Linked DNA regions of Homo sapiens: all the other regions are linked to region 1. The links are contacts of gene promoters, found by promoter capture Hi-C in blood cells and fetal thymus (Javierre and others, 2016). All regions are on one chromosome and are shown on one strand. The core of a region is centred on a gene start or on the middle of the fragment in contact, and the rest is flanking DNA. Distances in the headings are between cores, read along the strand shown. Region 1 overlaps PFAS (phosphoribosylformylglycinamidine synthase). Region 2 holds the start of EIF5A (eukaryotic translation initiation factor 5A). Region 3 holds the start of TP53 (tumor protein p53).

Region 1 (2,695 bases), core at 137-2,636:
CAGCCCTCATGCACGCAAACCCTGTCTCTGAGCTCTTGAAGCTTATATTTTACTGGGAATGATAGACGGAAATCAAGTGGCTTAATAAACAAAATGCCTTCAGGAAGACTGTCCTGAAAGTTGGGGAGGGGCTGAAGAGTGGTGAGAATCAAGAGTTCATTAAGTCATTCCACAAGTTTTAGAATTTTTTTGCGTTTCAAGCCCTGGTATTGTTCTAAGCCTTGGTAATTCAATGGAAACGAAGCAGCAACATCCCATGCCCACGTAGAGATTTTTTTTCTAGTGGGGAATATAGAGCGAAAAATAAAAACATCCAATAGTGATAAGCGCTTTACAGGAAATTAAAATAGGGCCGGCCATCTGATAGTAACTACTTGAGTGGCTAGTGAAGCCTTTTCCACGAAGGCGAATCACCAGAAATCTAAATAACAAGAGCTAGCCATGCATATGTCAGGGTGAAAAAAATGCCTTCCAGGACTGAGCTTGGCAAGTTAGAGAAATAAAAAAGAAGCTAATGTGTGGTTGGTGCATTGTGGGTGAAAAAGAGAATGGTGTGAGATAGGGTTGGAAAGGTAGGCCAGAGAGTGGCCAGACTTGGTAAACCAGGATGCTGAGTTGGAATTTATACCATGTGTAATGGGAAGCCATAATCCACTTTATGCTGATGTGTGACAAATGAATTGTGGTTATGCAGTGGTCAGGAGGTTAATGCATTGGTCCAGGTGAGTGATGGTGGTGGCTTACTTGAACTAGAGTGAGGTAGTAGAGATGAAGAGATGAGAGATTTGAGACATGATTGGAAATAGATTTCCTGGTGGATTGGATTTAGAGAGTCTGAGGGAAAGAGAATTAAGGATGACTTCTGTGTTTTTGTCTTGAGCAACAAATTGGATGATGGTAGTGTTTACTGAGTGGCAAGACTAGGGGAACAGCAGAGTTTGGTGAGTAAAGCCAGGGTCCCGCTGAGAGGCAGTGGGACCAGAAATTGGATAGGTAGTTTGGGATAGATGGGGAGGGCCTTTGAATGTTAGGCTAAAAGTATTAACTGTAATAGTTCTGTTGCCTGATGCACACTGGAGGTCAATACACCAAGACACCAGGTTGCAGCAGAGAAAGAGGTTTAATCATAGGGCTGCTGAACAAGGAGACAGGAGGAAACCTCAAATCCATCTCCCAGAGTACTTTGGGGCTAGGGTTTTTAAAAAAGAGTTTGGAATAGGATTAGGATGAAGTGTGAAAATCATTGATTGAAGAGTGCAGGGTGAGGTCATGAAACAGGGAGATGAAGAAACTGATTCTCATGCTCACTTGGTTCCACTGTGGGAGTCTTTTTTTTTTTTTATTTTTTTTAATTTGAAAGATGAGGTCTGCCTGGCGCAGTCGCTCACGCCTATAATCCCAGCACTTTGGGAGGCTGAGGTGGGTGGATCACGAGTTCAAGAGATTGAGACCATCCTGGCGAACATGGTGAAACCCCATCTCTACTAAAAATACAAAAATTAGCTGGTCATGGTGGTGTGCACCTGTAGTCTCAGCTACTCGGGAGACCGAGGCAGGAGAATCGCGTGAACCCGCAAGGCAGAGGTTGCAGTGAGCCGAGATCGTGCCACTGTACTCCAGCCTGGCAACAGAGTGAGACCCCATCTCAAAAAAAGAAAAAGAAAGACGGGGTCTTGCTCTGTCACCCAGGCTGGAGTGCAGTGGCACAATCGTAGCTCACTGCAGCCTCAAACTCATGGGCTCAAGCGATCCTCTTACCTCAGCCTCTTGAGTAGCTGGGACCACAGGTACATGCCACCATGCCCCACTAATTTTTAATTTTTTTTTTTATAAAGACAGGGTCTTACCATGTTGCCCAGGGCTGGTCTCAAACTCCTGGGCTCAAGCAGTCCACTGCTTTGGCCTCCCAAAGTGCTGGGATTACAGGCATTGGGATTATAGGCGTGAGCCACTGCTCCTGGCTTCTGTGGGAGTCTTTGAGCTGGTGGAGTCAGCTGTTCTGCTGGAATTCAGGATCTGCTTAAGCAATTCTTTTTTTTTTTTTTTTTTTTTGAGTCAGAGTCTTACTCTGTCACCCAGGCTGGAGTGCAATGGCTCAATCTTGGCTCACTGCAACCTCTGCTTCCCAGGTTCCAGTGATTCTCCTGCCTCAGCCTCCCGAGTAGCTGGGACTACAGGTGCTTGCCACCACGCCCGGCTAATTTTTTGTATTTTTAATAGAGACAGGGTTTCACCACGTTGGCCAGGTTGGTCTTGAACTCCTGACCTCAAGTGATCTGCCCCTCTTGGCCTCCTAAAGTGCTAGGATTACAGATGTGAGCCACCATGCCCAGCCCTGCTTAAGCAATTCTTTTTTTTTGTTTTAATAATTTATGGGTCGGAATGGTGGCGCACGCCTGTAATCCCAACGCTTTGGGAGTCCGAGGCGGGCAGATCACTTGAGGTCAGGAGTTGGAGACCAGCCTGGCGAACATAGGGAAACCCCGTCTCTACTAATAATACAAAAATTAGCTGGGCGTGGTGGCGCATGCCTGTAATCTCAGCTACTTGGGAGGCTGAGGCAGGAGAATTGCTTGAACCCAGGTGGCAGAAGTTGCAGAGAGCCCAGATTGTGCCACTGCACTCCAGCCTGGGTGACAGAGTGAATCCATCTCAAAAAAAAAGAAAAAGAAAATAAATAAATAAATAAATAATT
Region 2 (2,695 bases), core at 108-2,607, 940 kb before region 1:
ATTTTCAGTAGAGACGGGGGTTTCACTACGTTGGCCAGGCTGGTCTTGAACTCCTGACCTTGTGATCCGCCCGCCTCGGCCTCCCAAAGTGCTGGGATTACAGGCGTGAGCCACCGCTCCCGGCCTACCACTATTTTATTTTATTTATGTATTATTTATTTATGTTTTTGAGACTTGAGTTTCGCTCTTGTTACCCAGGCTGGAGTGCAATGGCGCAATCTCGGCTCACGGCAACCTCCACAGGAGAAGCGATTCTCCTGTCCCAGCCTCCCGAGTAGCTGGGATTACAGGCATGCGCCGCCACGCCCGGCTAATTTTGTATTTTTAGTAGAGACGGGGTTTCTCCATGTTGGTCAGGCTGGTCTCGAACTCCCGACCTCAGGTGATCCGCCCGCCTCGGCCTCCCAGAGTGCTGAGATTACAGGTGTCAGCCACCGCGCCCGGCCCACCACTCATTTTTATAGACAATTTTTTCTAAGGGACCTCGTAGACAATACTTTGGGGAACCGCAGAGCACAGTTGGGGAAAACACAGTAATACCATCTAAGTTTCTTTACTGAGGACCTCAGAGCCGAATGGCCTCTATGGATGCCATAGAGACCAATACGGACTGAGGGTTTAAAGAAGATGGTGTCCGCCGCAGGACCGCTCTATCTTCTCGGGTGAACTCTATGGCAGAGCATAGGCATTCGATTTAGAGAAGTGAAGCCGAGATGGGTGGGAACCCGACCACACTAGCGCGCTAGAAGAGTGGGGCGGAAAGACATCTCCCGCGCATGTGTGGAACTGGGGGGACTGATTCCAAGACAAGGCGCCCACCCCACAGAGCAAGTTTTCTGAAACGTGTGAGTCGTTTAAGTCCAGTTAAAGCCGAGGTGGGGCGTATCCTGAGACGCATGCGTTCTAGACGAGACAAGTGATCTAGCGGCGTGGTCTTTTCAACGCCTGGCGTACTGACGGCGTCTGAGGTGGAAGGGGTTGTTTAGGATTCCGAACACGCATGCGTTCTGAGACCCAGGCGTTTCCTTTAGAGGGTGTGGAGTGCAGGGCTCCTTATTGCGCAGGCGCAAGGACTGCCCGGTAGGACGAGCGGTCTATCAAGGGGAGGGAAGATGAGGTTGAAGAGATTAAAAAACCGGGTGCGCCTGCGCGTTGCAGATTAGTTGAAAACGCTCAGGGTTTGTGAGGGGCGGGGTCACGTATGCGCGTCATTGGACGGGTCGGTGGGAGGGAGGGTGGAGATGGGTAGGGTGTGTGCGCTTGCGCAGTGCGGGGGTGGAGGGCGGAGGAGATAGATAGCACGCTTGCGCGGCTGTCATAGGGCTGCTTGGTTGGTCAGTGGGGAGTCGGCGCCTGCGTACTAAGACCCGTGTGCAGCAGCGGCGGCGGCGGTAGAGGCGGCGGCGGCGGCGGCAGCGGGCTCGGAGGCAGCGGTTGGGCTCGCGGCGAGCGGACGGGGTCGAGTCAGTGCGTTCGCGCGAGGTGAGAGCGGGCAGGGCGCGTGTGCGCGGTACCTTGGCTTGGGCCCGGGAGAAGATGGAACTGCGCGGGGGTCGGGGAGGGGGCAGAGGGGAGCGGCGGCCGCCGCCGCACGGGTTCGGCCAGAGAGCGGCGCGAGGTGAGGAGAGGCGCGGGCGCGCGCCCCGGTTGGCGCGCGGGGTGACGGTTGGGGTTGGCCCGGTGACGTTGGAGCGACGCAGGGCGGGGGACGGCGAGCCGCGAGGCAGCCACGCGGGAGAGGCCGCCAGGCGGCCACGCCGGGGCGAGGGCCAGGGGCCAGATCGGCCCACCGGGGCAAGGGTACCTGGGCCGTTGAGGACCCGGCTCAGCGCGGCCACGTGAGGTGGGGGAGGGGGCTATTCGGTGAGAGGGCATGATGGGGGGGGTTGGCGGACGGCCGGGGGGAGGGGAGGCGGCGTGGCTCCGGCCTGGCGCAGTCTCTGAGGAGGGGGCGGCCGCGGCACCGGAAGTGCCCCCCACGGGAGGCTGCCCTCGGGGTCGCAGGCCGCATGGCCAAGCGTGGACCGGGGCCGCATGGCAGCGCGGGGACCCCTCCCCCCAGGTCCCGGCCACCGGAAGCCCGGAACGGCCACATGGTCGGCAGGAGCCGGCAGCCCCTAGCGCGGGGAGCTAGTCCTCGCGGGGGTTCCGAGGGGGCCTGAGATTTTGAGGAGTGGAAGCCGGAGGCTCGGGTCCTAATCACCCCGGAGGGCCTGCTGCAGGCATATGTTAGCGCTTCCCAACCTCAAGGGCCCCAGGAGCTTTCCTGAAAAACCCTCCTGTGAAGTGTGGCGGTCAGCCAGGTGTAAGTGGCACCCCTTCGAGCTGGGAGGCCGGAGAAATGGGGAAACAGGGCGTTTGGACAGGAGCCCAACTTTTCTGTCGGCCTGGGTGGACAGCGCCTAAAAGCCTCAGGCAGATGAGTTTCCCACCGTGATAGGCGTTCTTCACCTTGTCACTGTCTTCCTGTTGTAACTGGTTTGGGAGTTCCACGGTTTCGAAGTCCTTAACTCTACTAGCCTAGTATGATTTTCTACTACTCACTACTACCAACCTTTTGCTTTCATTTTATTGTCATTCACCACCCCCCACCTCTCCCACTTTCTACTGACTGTACTGGCCCGGCCTGAAAAGCCGACAGGACAGATGCATCCTGGGAAAAGTGGGAGGGCCTTCCAGGAGAGGCTGGGTTCCT
Region 3 (2,695 bases), core at 59-2,558, 560 kb before region 1:
TGCGTCTGGAACTGGAATGGCCTAGCCCAAAGCTAGATAACAGGTAGATTGTTTTTCCGACAAATTATCAAACGACCCATCATTGCACTCTTTCAAAATTTGATTCTCAGACGTACCCATTCTTTTTTTTTTTCCTCCGGGAAGATGAGATATACTCATTCTTGAAAATACCTCCGGGCTTGCCTTCTGCACACTTCTTTCCCTCCCTGTCTCACGCCATGGTAGCGTCCGCCTAGGTTGCAGGCGACCCGCGGGGTGGGGCACACCATTCAAAGAAGGGGAGGGATTGAGGTTTGCATCAAAACAAATACCCCTGCCTTTGCAAAGGCCATAACTAAGTAATCCAGAAAAAGAAATGCAGGCGGAGAATAGCAGCCTCCCTCTGCCAAGTAAGAGGAACCGGCCTAAAGGACATTTTCTCTCTCTCTCCTCCCCTCTCATCGGGTGAATAGTGAGCTGCTCCGGCAAAAAGAAACCGGAAATGCTGCTGCAAGAGGCAGAAATGTAAATGTGGAGCCAAACAATAACAGGGCTGCCGGGCCTCTCAGATTGCGACGGTCCTCCTCGGCCTGGCGGGCAAACCCCTGGTTTAGCACTTCTCACTTCCACGACTGACAGCCTTCAATTGGATTTTCTCCATCTAGCGGAGCCGGGGGCTGCCTGGAAAGATCGCTCCAGGAAGGACAAAGGTCCGGAAGTTGTGGGACCTTAGCAGCTTGGGCTCCCCGGATCACCCCCAAATGATCATTTCGGAATGGAGCCCCAGTTTTCACTAGGATGCCATGGGCTCTAAAATATACAGCTATGAGTTCTCAATGTTTCGAGATCCAAAAGTCTCAGACCTCAATGCTTTGTGCATCTTTTATTTCAGGGATTCCCTACGCCCAGCACCGGGTGGATGTGCAAAGAAGTACGCTTTAGGCCGGCTCAAGGTTCCCCAAAGCTCCACTCCTCTGCCTAGGCGTTCAACTTTGAGTTCGGATGGTCCTAACATCCCCATCATCTACACCCAGGTCTCCCAACAATGCAACTCCTATGATGATCCCTCTAGCCAAGCTTCCATCCCACTCACCCCCAAACTCGCTAAGTCCCCACTGCCCCACCCCCAGCCCCAGCGATTTTCCCGAGCTGAAAATACACGGAGCCGAGAGCCCGTGACTCAGAGAGGACTCATCAAGTTCAGTCAGGAGCTTACCCAATCCAGGGAAGCGTGTCACCGTCGTGGAAAGCACGCTCCCAGCCCGAACGCAAAGTGTCCCCGGAGCCCAGCAGCTACCTGCTCCCTGGACGGTGGCTCTAGACTTTTGAGAAGCTCAAAACTTTTAGCGCCAGTCTTGAGCACATGGGAGGGGAAAACCCCAATCCCATCAACCCCTGCGAGGCTCCTGGCACAAAGCTGGACAGTCGCCATGACAAGTAAGGGCAAGTAATCCGCCTGCCGGAGGAAGCAAAGGAAATGGAGTTGGGGAGGAGGGTGCAGAGTCAGGATTCTCGCCGACCTGGTGCCGTAGATACTAACATTTTGGGGTGGAAAATTCTGCAAGCCAGAGCTGTGAGGGCAGAATTGGTGGAAATCATTTTGGAGGAATCCTGCATTGTGTCAAATATGAAGGGTGGAAGGAAGAAAGCTTTTGCGTTTGCTCTCAGCTGGATCCTTTCTTCTCATCAGTTAAAATGTCATTTTTTAGGAAGGCTTTCCGTAATATCACACCCTAACGTTTTCTCCCAGATACTTTATATCACACCATCTTATTTAATCTCCTTCACAACCCTTATCACTCTGATAAGATTTATTTGTTCATTGCTTTCAGTACATGGAAACGTAAGCCTTATGAGGATATAGAATTTTTCTACTATCTTATTCATTGTTGTATTCCTGAGTGCCTATATCAGTGCTGGGTAGCAAGTAAGAGCTCGATAATAAATATTTTTTGAATGAGGGAGACAGGTCTGAAGCCTGGAGAATGAGATGCAGAAGAGGTGCAAGACCTGCTGCGCCCTCTGCAGGCGGCGGGGGGGCGGTGCAGGTGCTTTAAGAATTACCGCGGGACTCGGTAGGGGGAGCGTAGGCGCTTCTCGCCAAGATAGAAGCGTTCAGACTACAACTCCCAGCAGCCACGAGGAGCCCTAGGGCTTGATGGGAACGGGAAACCTTCTAACCTTTCACGTCCCGGCTCCGCGGGTTCCGTGGGTCGCCCGCGAAATCTGATCCGGGATGCGGCGGCCCAATCGGAAGGTGGACCGAAATCCCGCGACAGCAAGAGGCCCGTAGCGACCCGCGGTGCTAAGGAACACAGTGCTTTCAAAAGAATTGGCGTCCGCTGTTCGCCTCTCCTCCCGGGAGTCTTCTGCCTACTCCCAGAAGAGGAGGGAAGCACAGGTGGGTTTCTTTAGCTCTGCGTCGGATCCCTGAGAACTTCGAAGCCATCCTGGCTGAGGCTAATCTCCGCTGTGCTTCCTCTGCAGTATGAAGACTTTGGAGACTCAACCGTTAGCTCCGGACTGCTGTCCTTCAGACCAGGACCCAGCTCCAGCCCATCCTTCTCCCCACGCTTCCCCGATGAATAAAAATGCGGACTCTGAACTGATGCCACCGCCTCCCGAAAGGGGGGATCCGCCCCGGTTGTCCCCAGATCCTGTGGCTGGCTCAGCTGTGTCCCAGGAGCTACGGGAGGGGGACCCAGTTTCTCTCTCC

Evidence for each region. The method cuts DNA at HindIII sites, captures the fragments that hold promoters and counts their contacts. A CHiCAGO score of 5 or more calls a contact.
Region 2: the fragment with the promoter of EIF5A here is called in contact with a fragment that was not itself captured in region 1 in 1 of 17 cell types (activated CD4 T cells); the score reaches 5.6 in activated CD4 T cells.
Region 3: the fragment with the promoter of TP53 here is called in contact with a fragment that was not itself captured in region 1 in 1 of 17 cell types (fetal thymus); the score reaches 8.3 in fetal thymus.

The regions. Positions count from the first base shown.
Region 1 is chr17:8,249,638-8,252,332 of GRCh38, forward strand. The region is part of intron 1 of PFAS (phosphoribosylformylglycinamidine synthase); the gene reads left to right. Among named protein-coding and RNA genes, the nearest start is that of PFAS, 1.7 kb to the left of the region's middle. The HindIII fragment of the contact is 2,695 bases long and covers 40-2,695 here.
Region 2 is chr17:7,306,271-7,308,965 of GRCh38, forward strand. It overlaps EIF5A (eukaryotic translation initiation factor 5A), which reads left to right and starts at 1,358. Exons shown (of 6, transcript NM_001970.5): 1 at 1,358-1,482. RefSeq lists enhancers at 1-483, 355-654, 484-1,294, 2,525-2,695 and silencers at 1,205-1,314, 1,675-1,844, 1,935-2,054. The HindIII fragment of the contact is 13,725 bases long and covers 1-2,695 here.
Region 3 is chr17:7,686,182-7,688,876 of GRCh38, forward strand. TP53 (tumor protein p53) reads right to left here and starts at 1,309. Exons shown (of 11, transcript NM_000546.6): 1 at 1,196-1,309. WRAP53 (WD repeat containing antisense to TP53) reads left to right here and starts at 2,296. Exons shown (of 11, transcript NM_001143992.2): 1 at 2,296-2,380; 2 at 2,467-2,695. The coding sequence starts at 2,468. RefSeq lists enhancers at 30-159, 179-726, 190-239, 200-1,399, 2,198-2,247. The HindIII fragment of the contact is 572 bases long and covers 1,055-1,626 here.